3 separate regions of the Homo sapiens genome follow, and all the other regions are linked to region 2. The links are contacts of gene promoters, found by promoter capture Hi-C in human tissues and cell types (Jung and others, 2019). All regions are on one chromosome and are shown on one strand. The core of a region is centred on a gene start or on the middle of the fragment in contact, and the rest is flanking DNA. Distances in the headings are between cores, read along the strand shown.

The links. Contacts are between HindIII fragments. The study calls those that stand out against the background at their distance.
Region 1: a contact is called between a fragment that was not itself captured here and the fragment with the promoter of CUL9 in region 2, in 1 of the 25 tissues and cell types used here (spleen).
Region 3: a fragment that was not itself captured here is called in contact with the fragment with the promoter of CUL9 in region 2 in 1 of the 25 tissues and cell types used here (mesenchymal stem cells).

What each region holds. Positions count from the first base shown.
Region 1 is chr6:42,553,049-42,557,285 of GRCh38, forward strand. No RefSeq gene overlaps it. Among named protein-coding and RNA genes, the nearest start is that of UBR2, 8.9 kb to the right of the region's middle. The HindIII fragment of the contact is 6,616 bases long and covers 1-4,237 here.
Region 2 is chr6:43,180,651-43,184,864 of GRCh38, forward strand. CUL9 (cullin 9) reads left to right here and starts at 1,546. Exons shown (of 41, transcript NM_015089.4): 1 at 1,546-1,599; 2 at 3,652-4,214. The coding sequence starts at 3,661. It overlaps SRF (serum response factor), which reads left to right. Exons shown (of 7, transcript NM_003131.4): 7 at 1-856. RefSeq lists an enhancer at 1,217-1,286 and silencers at 1,537-1,676, 1,697-1,746. The HindIII fragment of the contact is 4,480 bases long and covers 1-2,891 here.
Region 3 is chr6:42,646,344-42,651,083 of GRCh38, forward strand. It overlaps UBR2 (ubiquitin protein ligase E3 component n-recognin 2), which reads left to right. Exons shown (of 47, transcript NM_001363705.2): 22 at 1,775-1,827; 23 at 3,941-4,043. Among named protein-coding and RNA genes, the nearest start is that of PRPH2, 74 kb to the right of the region's middle. The HindIII fragment of the contact is 3,772 bases long and covers 283-4,054 here.

The DNA of each region.
Region 1 (4,237 bases), core at 553-3,052, 630 kb before region 2:
ACTAGGCCAACAGGGTAACCAATCCGTTTTGGAGTAGATAGAAAACTCCAGGAGAGATCTCTACAAGACTGGGGGGAAAAAATGGCCGGGCACGGTGGCTCATGCCTGTAATCCCAGCTACTGGGGAGGCTGAGGCACAAGAACTGCTTGAACTCGGGAGGCGGAGGTTGCAGTGAGTCGAGATGGCACCATTGCACTACAGCCTGGGTGACAGAGCAAGACTGTTTAAAAAAAAGAAAAAACGAAGGAAGGAAGGAAGGAAGGAAGGAAGGAAGGAAGGAAGGAAGGAAGGAAAGAAAAGATTTAAAAAAATTTTTTTTTTGAGACAAGGTCTCGCTCCATCACTCAGACTGGAGTGCAGTGGAGCAATCTCAGCTCTTGCAACCTCTGCCTCCCAGGCTCAAGTGATCCTCCCACCTAAGTCTCCCGAGTAGCTGGGACCACAGGTGTACACCACCATGCTCCGCTAATTTTTTAAGGTTTCTGTAGAGACAAGGTGTCACTATATTGCCCAGGCTGGTCTCGAACTCCTGGCCTCAAGAAATCCTCCGGCCTTGGCCTCCCAGAGTGCTGGGATTACAGGCATGAGCCACCACGCCCAGCCCAAGATAAAATTTATAGACCACTGGATGTGTCTCAGTACAATGGGAGATTTAGACAATTGACAATTCGAAGTTCAGTCCCAGGAGATAATTTATATCAGCAACAACAGGTACAGAAAACATAAAATGTTCTTCAGAATCTTTTTAGTTTATATTTATTTATATAATGTATTTTGTTAACTTTTTTATTGTCTGAGGGCTCTTTGTATACCAGCGCTTTATAATATTCCCACTAGAGACTAAAGGAAACCCACTCTCAGTACTTCCCAATGAGAAGAAAAAAGTTGCAATTGGCTGTCACCAAAGCCAATGTCCCTGTAAAAGTGGGAGGCGGGTAACCTTGTCCCCAAGAAAAGCAGAGTGTATGCCTACAGAGTTTAACCACGGATACAACTATCTTGGTGTTGAGAGGTGACAACCTGCTAGCAGCCCTCGCTGGCTCTCGGCGCCTCCTCGGCCTCTGCGTCCGCTCTGGCCGCGCTCGAGGAGCCCTTCAGCCCGCCGCTGCGCTGTGAGGGCCCCTCTCTGGGGCTGGCCGAGGCCGGAGCCGGCTCCCTCTGCTCACTGGGAAGTGTGAAAAGAGAGGCGCCGGCGGGAGCTGGGGCTGCGCGCGGGCTCCGCAAGTCCCGCACTCTGCGCGGCGGGCCGGCGCCTGCTGGGCTTGACTGGGGGACGAGCTCCCTCTGGGCTGCCGGAGTGCCCGGCTAGGTGCCCCAAAATCCCGCAGCCAGTGCCAGTGACAAGTGAAGCCGGCTAGGCTTCTGGGATATTGGGGACTGGGAGAACTTTTCTGTCTAGCTAAAGGATTGTAAACGCACCAATCAGCACTCTCTGTCTAGCTAAAGGTTTGTAAACGCACCAATCAGCACTCTGTCAAAACGGACCAATCAGCTCTCTGTAAAATGGACCAATCAGCTCTCTGCAAAATGGACCAATCAGCAGGATGTGGGTGGGGCCAGATAAGGGAATAAACGCAGGCCACCAATGCCAGCAGCAGCAACCTGATCAGGTACTCTTCTGTGTGGCGGGGGTGCTTTGTTCTTTTGCTCTTTGCAATAAATGTTGGTGCTGCTCCGTCTTTGGGTCTGTGCTGCTTTTGAGAGCTGTAACACTCACTGTGAAGGTCTGCAGCTTCGCTCATGAAGCTAGCGAGATCACGAACCTGCCAGAAGGAAGAAACTTCAGACACATCTGAAGGAACAAACTCTGGACACACCACCTTTAAGAACTGTAACACTCACTGCAAGGGTTTGAGGCTTCATTCTTGAAGTCAGTGAGACCGAGAACCCACCAATTCTGGACACAGTGTGACACTCCTGAGATAGATCTATGTCCAATGTTTTGAAAGAATTCCAGGACATGAAAGTTCTCAATCTTTTACCCATGGCCTTTAAGATAAACCCGGCTAGACAGGGTGGCTCATGCCTCTAGTCCCAACACTTTGGGAGGCCAAGGCAGTGGATTGCTGGAGGTCAGGAGATCAAGACCATCCTGGCCAACATCATGAAACCCTGTCTCTACTAAAAATACAAAAATTTAGCATGCATGGTCGTGGACGCCTGTAATCTCAGATACTTGGGTGGCTTGGGGCCAAAGAATTGCTTGAACCCAGGAGGTAGAGGTTGCAGTGAGCCAAGATTGCACCACAGCACTCTAGCCTGGGCAACAGAGCAAGCTGGAAGAGAGAGAGAGAGAGAGAGAAGGAAGGAAGGACAGGAGAAGAGAAACCCAACTAATTAGTTTAGGACCAGTCCAGAAGAAGGGAGACTGGGTTTTGGCCTAACATACACAAGCTTGGTTATTTTAATTAGGAAATAAATAATTTGCCTAGAAGTAGGCCTGTAGGGGGAACAGCCTGTCTTGGGACGAACATGAGCCTTGGAGTTGGTGAGACCAGATTTCAAATGCCAGTTGAGCTGCTGATCTAACAATGCAACTGAATTGATTAGCTACTGGTACATACAAAATCACCTCAAAGTTTAGTGGCTTAAAACAACAAGCATTTATTTAGATTACAATTCTGCAGGTCAGCAATTTAGGCCAGTGCTCCTGGTCTCCCTGGCCTCTCTCACCTGCCTCTGAGGCAGGAGAATAGGGTTTGGAGGTAGAGAACCTAAGGCAGATTCACACTGACTTCCTAGAACTAAATCAAAAGGAAAACCGCAGTTGCAGTGAGCTGAGATGGTACCACTGTACTCCAGCCTGGGTGAACCCCAACTTTCCACACCCAAGTAACAAATGATCAGAGGCTACTCCCTTTGCAAGCCTCTCCTCCCTGCTACCCCACCCTGTTTTCTGCCTGGCAGATGAAAAACTGAAAGTACCTCTGATTGGTCCCCTCCTGGAACCAATCAGGCTGGTCAAGGGCCAAGTCTTCATTTGCATAGAAGTATAACTTTGTAACTTCAGCCTCTGATTGGTCACTTTTCGCAACCAATCAGACATTTGCATAGGGTGTAACTTGGCAACTTCAGTCTCTGGTTGCATTTACCTAGGGTGTATACCAAGTAACCAATGGGAAACCTCCAGAGGGTATTTAAACCCCAGAAAATTCTGTAACCAAGCCCTTCAGCTGCTTGCTCTAGCTGCTCCCACCCTATGGAGTGTGATTTTTTGTTTCAATAAATCTGTTTTTGTTGCTTCATTCTTGCTTTGTGTATTTTGTCCAATTCTTTGTTCAAAGCACCAAGAACCCAGACACTCTCTACCGGTAACACCTTAAGCTATCCACAGGTCAGCTAAATGATTTTGCTTTTGGGAGCTGGCTGGCTGTCAGCTAGATGCCTCTGTTCTCTTCCATATGATCTCTCATCCCCAAGTGGGCTATCCTGGACTTGTTCACATGGAGAAAGCAGGGGAGTCCTAGAGAGGGTTGAAGCGTCCAAGGCCATATTTAGGGATCTAGGTTTAGAACTGTATACTGTCATTTCTGCCACATTGTATTCACTAAAGCAATCATAAGGCCAGCCCAGATTCAAGGGGTGGTAAAACAGTTCCCACTTCTTGATAGAAAGAGTGGCTGAGTCACATTACAAAGGGAGTGGAGGCAGGAATGTCGTTAATTAGGGCCATAAAACTGCAATCTACCACGGTGACTGTGGCCAAGTTACTTTGCCTTTATGAGTCTCAGTTTCTTTTTTTTTTTTTTTTTTTTGAGACAGAGCCTCACTCTGTCACCCAGGCTGGAGTGCAGTGGCACGATCTTGGGCTCACTGCAACCTCCGCCTCCTGAGTTCAAGTGATTCTCCTGCCTCAGCCTCCCAAGTAGTGGAATTACAGACACCTGCCACCATTTCTGTATTTTTAGTAGAGACAGGGTTTCACCATGTTGATCAGGCTGGTCTTGAACTCCTGACCTCAAGTGATGCACCTGCCTTGGCCTCCCAAAGTGCTGGGATTACAGGCCTGAGCCACCACGCCCAGTCTATTTCATGAAGTCTTAACTGAAAATAATAACACATATCTGAAACAATTTTACTAAGGAATAGGAATAATATACCTATGCCTATTACTAGTGAGCATAGCATTTATTAGTTTATCTGAAACTTGTTGGCTAAAAGTTGCAGCTATCTTACTGTTCTTGATTCAAGTCAAGTTCATTTCACCCTCAGGGCCTTTGCAATTGCTGTTTCTTT
Region 2 (4,214 bases), core at 296-2,795:
AGCATAGGGGGGAGGGTCTTTTACCCTGTGTCAGAGCCTACCTTCACCACCTATATCCAGAAGGGGAGCTTTTTCAGAAACAGGGCAGCAGTGGGGTGAAATTTTCTTAACCCCTAAGACTGCCTTCAGTAGGAACAAGCTGGCTTCTGTGATTAGGTGAAGGGATGGGGGAAGATTTTATGCACAGCCTAGTTATCAAGGGGATGATTTGCCGACATGTTTGAGAACCCCCTAACCTCTAACCCTCATTGCTGTCTTGCCCCAGTTTGGGGTGCCAAGATGGAAGTCACCTTTCTGGGCTTTCTCCTGGAGATAGCTGGGGCTTATGGGTGGCTTTCAAGGCTGGGGCATGGCAAATCAGGGGCCAGAGAGCAGGGGAGCTTGGGACTCAGGTCTGTAACTGCCCAGCCCCTTTTCTCTGCTCTTGTTTCACTCCACCATCACTCACTCACTCCCCACTCCCCCACCCATGGGGAGGAGACCTTTGATGAATTCTTCCTCTCCTTCCCACAAAAGACAGACCCAGTGAGTGAATCAGGCAAAGTGCTTATAATGTGTGTTGTGTGAGCGTGGCCTTGGGAGGACATGCGTGTGTCAGGGATGAGTTGAGGTGATATTTTTATGTGCAGCGACCCTTGGTGTTTCCCTTCCTCGGTGGCTCTGGGGTATGTGTGTGTGGGTGTGTGCGCCTGAGTGAGTGTGTGTGCTTGAATGTGAGTGTGTATGTCAGTGGTTTCTACTTCCCCTGGGATGCTGACCCAGGAATAGTGGACATGGTCACAGTCCTATGTACAGAGCTTTCTTTTGTATTAAAAAAAAATACTCTTTCAATAAATGTATCATTTTTGTGCACAGACTGTGGGGTCTTTGGTTCTGTTTTTCTACTTAGGGAGGGATGGGGGTATGAACGCGAGGCAAACTCCTAAAATTGCTGCTCTGAGTAGCGATCCGGGCTGCTTGATGAGAACGGTAATGCTAAGGTGTGCTTTGGGCTGTTTAATTCTATACGATTTAATTTAAGGAAAGTTTTGCGGGGCCGAGGACCTTCTCCCTGTGCGTGGCTTCGCTAGGTGTTAAGGCCAACGCAGAGGAGCAAATTTTAATTAACAGGAAAAGTGACACAACTAATCCAAAGCATTGCTGAAGGGTTTGGGAAACTCATGGGCACCTGACCTACTGAAAAGTCAAAAAGGGCAGCCTTAAGGTGGGAATGTGGGTTACCATGTTTCGTCAGCATGATCGCTGTGATGGGAGAGGGAGGATTAGGAGGGCCGACCCAGTGAAGAGGAGGGGGCTTCACAGTTGACTGGATGGAAACGGCTTCTTCCTGCTGCTGAGAGAGGAGCAACGTGACCTCGATCCCAGGCTCCTCCGGTAGCGCGCCCCCACGCCCCTCTTCCAGTGCAGCCGCCCGCGGTAGCACGCATGCTCCACTCGCGCGCTGTTCCGCCACGCTCGGCGTGGGCCGCGGTGGGACCCGTAGGTGCCCGGCCGTGCGTGCACTCGCCGTGTGACCCGGAAGGGAGCTCTGAGGAGGCGGGGCCAGGACGGCGGGACCGGCCGCTGGGTCCCAGCGAGGGCTGAGCCGGGCGGTGGGAGGTGAGAGGAGAGTTCTGCGCCGACCCAATCCCTCCCCTTCTCCTGTCCCCTCCCCGGTCCTTTAGCCACTGTCCATGGGGCTGACGAAGGGAACCAGGTCTTGCTCTCTGAGATTCACTGGATCTTTTCAGCTTTTTTGGACCGCGCCCCCAACCATCCTTCCCCCTCCCCCCAAACCCGTTCCCTCTGCGGTGCTGGCCTCCTCCACCTCCCCACGGCTCTGCAAGCTTGGGCTTGACCTTGCTATCTGCTGGTCTCATCCATGCGTCCAGAGCTCACCCCCACACCTCAGTTTATTGTTGCTCTTCTAGGCCGACGTTACACCTCCTACCTCCTCCTATCCGATTCTTTTACTTCCCCCTGCTGCTAATCAGTTGCCCGCTGGCACATCGCTGGCTACCATCCAGGCTTGCCCCCCATCCTAAGTGGACCCCTACCTCCATTGAGGTCCACATCCATCTTTCTCCCTCCTCTTCACCTCTACTCTCATCTTCTGTCCCTGTACCCCAACATGACCCCTGCCCTGACCACTATATCTTCATCTGGGTTTACCTTCTTCCATTCTTATTCTCACTATTCCCTGTTGCCCCTGCACTGCTTCATATCACGCATATCTTTCCTGATTATTCCACTCCCATTTATAATCGGTCTTAATAACTTTGCATTTATTTGATGACTCCCCTACCTTCTCCATCTAAGAATAATAACAGATTATGTTTACTGAACACTCTTTATGTGCTAGATGCTGTTCCAAGTGCTTTACATACATGATCCTACTAAATTCATGAAGTAACTATGAATATTACTACCATCTTGCAGAAGAGGAAACAAGCTCAGAGGTTAAGTAACTTGTTCCAAACTATGCAGACAGTGAGACAGAAAGCCAGAATTCAGAGTCACATTTATCTGATACTGAAGTCTCTGAATATTGCTTCTCTCCTGACCTCATTTCCTACCTTTAACCCCATGATTACCACCTCTATCTTATCTACTTAACTTACTTAAATCCTTACCATACATGCAGTATAAGGGCAGGGTGGGACCTGGTCATCTTTCCCATAATTTTATCTGGTCCCTAGGGCCCTCCCCCTTTCACAAGACTCGAATATACTTTTCCTATCCAGTCATTTGCCCCAACATCCCAGCCTTTTGTCATCTCCATTCTCTATATCTGCCATGGCCCACCCTTTACATCCACCTTGCAGCTTTACTCTGTCATTTATGCTCCCTGTCCTGCCCCTCCGCTATCCTACTTTTCCTCACATGTTCTGATCCCACTGCCTCACATGCTGCTGTCCTTCCTGTCCACCCATGTCATTCTTCTAAGTCCTAATCTGTAACCCTCAGCCACCCTGCTATCCTGCCTAAACTGTCTTGCTTAACTGTCACTCTGTTTATTGTTACTTTGCCTATTACTGTTTTAATTCTCTTTTTGTAAACTCCCCTTCCTTCCTTTCTTCCTTCCTTCCTTCCTTCCTTCCTTCCTTCCTCTCTCTCTCTTTCTTTCTTTTTTTCTTTTTTTTGACAGAATCTCACTCTGTTGCCCAGGCTGGAGTACAGTGGCGCGGTCTTGGCTCACTGCAACCTCCGCCTCCTGGGTTCAAGTGATTCTCCTGCCTCAGCCTCCTGAGTAGCTGGGACTACGGGCATGTGCCACCACACCTGGCTAATTTTTGTATTTTTAGTAGAGACGGGGTTTCACTATGTTGACCAGGCTGGACTTGAATTCCTGACCTCGTGATCTGCCCACCTTGGCCTCCTAAAGTGCTGGGATTACAGGCGTGAGCCACTGGGCGCAGCCAACTCTTCCATTTCTTAAACCCCTTCTTCATCCCCTCTCTGTCTTCACTCCATTCTCCTTCTGTTATAAATCCCAAAGTATGTTCAGCTATTTATTCCATCCTATTTTTTGCCTTTTCTGTTTGGCCTCCTAAATTCTACCATGCAGCCTACCGATCACCACCCACCTTCTCTGTGTCTCAAGATTCCACCCCCTCCATGTATTTTTTTTCTTTTCTCATACTGCCTTATCTTTCTCCTTGTGTATCCCAGGAGGTCAGGATGGTGGGGGAACGGCATGCTGGGGACCTCATGGTGCCCTTAGGGCCTCGGCTGCAGGCATATCCTGAAGAACTCATTCGACAGAGGCCTGGGCATGACGGGCATCCTGAATACCTGATCCGATGGAGTGTCCTGAAGTGTGGGGAAGTGGGCAAAGTGGGTGTGGAAGAAGGCAAAGCAGAGCACATCCTCATGTGGCTGTCGGCTCCTGAGGTCTACGCCAACTGCCCTGGGCTGTTAGGTGAGCGGGCACTATCTAAGGGACTTCAGCACGAACCAGCTGGGGTTTCAGGAAGCTTTCCTCGAGATCCAGGAGGCCTGGATGAAGTGGCAATGGGAGAGATGGAGGCTGATGTTCAGGCGCTGGTACGCAGGGCGGCCAGGCAGCTGGCAGAAAGTGGGACCCCAAGCCTCACGGCCGCTGTGCTTCACACCATCCACGTGCTCAGTGCCTACGCCAGCATCGGGCCCCTCACTGGTGTCTTCAGGGAGACAGGAGCCCTGGACCTGCTCATGCACATGTTATGCAATCCTGAGCCTCAGATCCGCCGGAG
Region 3 (4,740 bases), core at 919-3,418, 530 kb before region 2:
TATTATAAATATTTCAAACATCTATAGAGATTAAAAAATGTAGTATAACAAACCCATCACCAGCTTCAACAGAGGCCAGTCTGGTTTCATCTATACCCAACCACTAACCTCTGTGCCCCACTGTATTATTTCCTAGAGAATACTATATTTACCATTTCATCTATAAATAGGACTATATGTATCTAAAACAGTGATTCTCAACTGAGGACAATTTTGCCCCCCAGGGGACATCTGTGAATGTTACTACTCAGGGCAGGATGTGGAATGCTACTGGTATCTAGTGGGTAGAGGCCAGGGATACTGCTAAACATCCTACAATACCCAGGACAACCCCCTACAACATATCTGATCTGAATGTCAGTAGTGCTGAGGTTGAAAAACTCTGATCTAGAAAATGAGGACTCTTAAAAACCCTATCTTTATGTTATCACACTTTTAAAAACAATAATTTATATATATATGTTTATATATATATATAGAGAGAGAGAGAGAGAGAGAGATAGAGTCTGGCTTGGTCACCCAGGCTGGAGTACAATGGCATGGTCTTGGCTTACTATAACCTCTGCCTCCCGAGTTCAAGCAATTCTCATGCCTCAGCCTCCCAAGTAGCTGGGATTACAGGCGCACGCCACCATGCCCGGCTAATTTTTGTGTTTTTAGTAGAGATGGGGGTTCTCTATGTTGTCCAGGCTGGTCTCGAACTCCTGGCCTCAAGTGATCTGCCCACCTCAGCCTCCCAAAGTGCTGGGATTACAGGCATAAGCCACCACACCTGGCCGAATGATGAATAATTCCTTAATGTCACTAAATATCTAGTCAAGATAAAAATTACTTGTACTGCTTTAATGCAGGAAGTGAATCCCAAGTTGTTCAATTAGGAAGCAGTTATAATTTAGCCTAAGCTTTAAGGAACAATAAAATTTCAAAAAGCATTTTTTAAGTGGTTTAAGATTGTCGGCCGGGCACAGTGGCTCACGCCTGTAATCCCAACACTTTGGGAGACCAAGGTGGGCGGATCAGGAAGTCAGGAGTTTAAGACCAGCCTGGCCAACACAGTTAAACCCCATCGCTACTAAAAAAAAAAAAAAAAAAAAAAAAAAAAATTAGCCAGGTGTGGTGGCAGGCGCCTGTAATCCCAGCTACTTGGTAGGCTGAGGCAGGAGAATTGCTTGGACCTGGAAGGTGGAGGTTGCAGTGAGCCAAGATCATGCCATTGCACTCCAGCCTGGGTAACAATGTGAGACTCTGTCTCAAAAAAATAAAAAATAAAGTGATTGTAACTGTATTTCCCAAACATTTTAAAGAATTATTTATTCACAGAATTCCTATTAATATCTTATCGTGAATGAGATATGATTGGGGAAGTGCTGTTGTACTGAAAATAGACAAGAAATTAGTGCAACTATTTTATAAAATACCAGACGTATTTTACATAAACTTTTTTAAATGTTTTATATACTTTGTGTTTTCATTTAATTCCTTTAGAAAGCTCTTACCTTGATTCTATATGGCAGTGACTTTTTAAAAATCATAAAGTTTTATCTATTTTATGTATTTAAAAATAATACATCAATTTGAATAAACATCAGCTTGCCGAGTAAGTATGTCTAGTTTTGTATTAATCATTGTATTTGCTATGGAATCCTCATCTGTAAAAATGGAGATAAGGTGTATCTACCTTAGGTTGTTATGAGGGTCAATGAGATAAAACACAATGCTAAGAGTGCTAGTAGTTATTATTAACATGAAACACACTTGTGTCCTGTACCTTTAGGAGAACAAGGAGACTGGCATGGAGAGTGTAATCGAAGCAGTTGCCCATTTCAAGTGAGTTTACTTCCTATTATTTCACATTCTTTTTTACTTTTCCAGTACATTCATTTTTCTTAGAGTGTTTTCTTTGATGCAACTGAGAATGAAGTTGCAGCTTTCAGAGATTGACAGACATTTTCAAATTATAGCTCTGAATTAGATTTCTCACTGACATTTCACTTTTCTGATCTCACCCTGTACTCAGCAACGTAAAGTGACATTGTGAGGGTTTTCGTCACATTCAGAATAGGTGTTCATAGCTGATGGTTTCAAATAGTAAAAATTAACCTCAGCAGTGATCTAAGTAAATGCATTGTAATTTCTTAAAACTGTTTTGTTTCCATTTGAATGTGCTGCCTAAATTGTGGGATAGCCTCTCAATGCCACCTTCTCCAGTGTCCACAGTCTTCCCCCAGTCAATAAACTGGTTTATACCCTTAAAGATATTAAAGCAGTTTCTTAAGCCTGTTTTTTCTTTGCTTCCTACCCCAATGACAATGTATTCATTTTTTTTAACCCACTATAAATTTTTGAAGATAGTGTCTTTATTTTTTGTTGGTTATAAAGACAATACTTGCTTTTAGGAAAAATACAAAGAAAAAATATTACCTGTAATCCAACCACTCAGATGATTTCTATTATGTTTAGATGTATATCTTTCTAAATTTTTTTTCTATACTTGGAACACATATTTATAACAAAAAATGGGTTCATTTCGTATTTACTATTCTATAACCTTTTTAAAAATTAAATAATGGAATGTTTCCATGTATTTGTGTCTTTGGGGGGGCGGGTTGTTGGTTTTATTGGGTTTTTTTAGTTTTTACATAATATACTTTGTCAGTACATATAGGCATACTTCATCCTTTTTCACTTCAGCCTGGGTAACAAAGCGAGACTCAAGTGCAGTGGCACGGTCTTGGCTCACTGCAACCTCCGCCTCCTAGGTCCAAGCAATTCTCCTGCCTCAGCCTCCCAAGTAGCTGGGATTACAGGCGCCCGCCACCACACCTGGCTAATTTTTGTATTTTTAGTAGACATGGGGTTTCACCATGTTGACCAGGCTGGTCTCAAACTCCTAACTTCAGATGATCCAGCCCGCCTCGGCCTCTCAAAGTGCTGAGATTACTGGCATGAGCTATGGTGCCAGGCCCTTTTTCACTTCCTTGTAGTCATGTACTGTAATGTATCTAACCTCTTCCCTATAATACATAGCTTCCAGATTTTCTCTTATAAACAAATATTGAAAATCCTTGTACATACAGCATTAACAAATGTATCTTTGACTGTGAAAGTGTTTCTTTGAGGATTAGCTAGATCAAAATGAAAGCTTGTATTACATTTTGGTACATACCTCCTAATTGCCTTCCCAAAAAAGTCCTCGATTTACACTCTGACTAGAAGTGTATAAAGAGTGCCCTGCAACTTTGTCAACACTTTAATATGAGCAGTCTTTTAGTACCTTATTTTAATTTGCGTTACTCTAAGTGAAGTTGAGCTTCTTTTCATGTGTTTATTGGCCGTTTATTTTTTCATACTTTAATGCATTTTTCTTTATGGTTGTTTGTCCCTATCTTATTGTTCCGAAAGTATTATATATTAGAAATGTCAATTCTTATTTAATACATCACAGTACTTTCTTCCAGTCTCCCTTGTTTTTTAACTTTCTGTTTTTAAAACTCTGTCTCAATTGGCTTCTGGGTTTTATAACTTGCTTAGGAAAGTTCTCTAAACCCCAATAGTGTACCTGCTTTTTTCTGCTTAATAGAACAACACGGAAGTCTTTACATGTGAAAATAGAGAAATTATCACTGTTAATGGTGTTCAGTTGTTTGGAGATGTTGTAATTTGTTATTTCACGTTATTAGACTTTTTAATTGTTGCCACTGCAGTGTCCATCACGTTCACTTGTCTAGTTAGGATAAATTCCAAGTGGGCATGCTAAATAAAACAGATGCATGTAGAACTCGGATTTAGACTGCCAAATCAACCCACTGAAAATAGTTGTAGCTTAACACCCACCAGCAGTATATGAGAGCTCTGCTTTCTTGTTCTAATATCCAAGACTATCTCTCATAAATTAGTGTATGGCTTTGGTAATAATATTCTAAGGTCCTTTCTTTCACAGGAAACCTGGATTAACAGGACGAGGCATGTATGAACTGAAACCAGAATGTGCCAAAGAGTTCAACTTGTATTTCTATCACTTTTCAAGGGCAGAACAGTCCAAGGTAATTGGGAAAATTAAAAATGTAGCAGGGAAGGATTGCATTGTTTTTCTTAAGAGATGAGGTTTCACCATGTTGCCCAGGCTAGAGTTTGGTGGCTATTCACAATGCCATTATAGAGCATTGCAACCTCAAACTCCTGGGCTCAAGCAATTCTCCCACCTCAGCCTCTTGAGTAGATGAGATTACAGGCATGCACCACTGTATCTGGCTTGAATTTTTTTTTCCTAAACAACTTTTTTACTGCTTTTGCAGATTGAAAAATGATACATTTTTATTGTAGGGGATTTGGAAAATATAAAATATAAAGAAGAAAGTAGAAATTACTTAAAATACCCTCACCTAACATTTTGGAGTTACCCCCTAGCGTTTTGTACATATGTATATACGATCTATATAATACATACCTTTACGTATATGGGTATAGTTTTTTAAAACAAATTTTCAACCTGTATTATAATCAGTTAATCCATTTTATGCACATTTCAGAATTGGTATTATTTAACACTTTTTCATAGAGATTCATGGAGCTTTTCTAATCATTCCTAGGTAATTAAATTTTGCCTTTTTGGTGGGGCATGTAATCCCAGCACTTTGGGAGGCTGAGGCGGGCAGATCGCTTGAGCTCAGGAGTTCGAGATCAGCCTGGCCAACATGTTGAAATCCCATGTCTACTAAAAATACAAAAATTAGCCAGGCA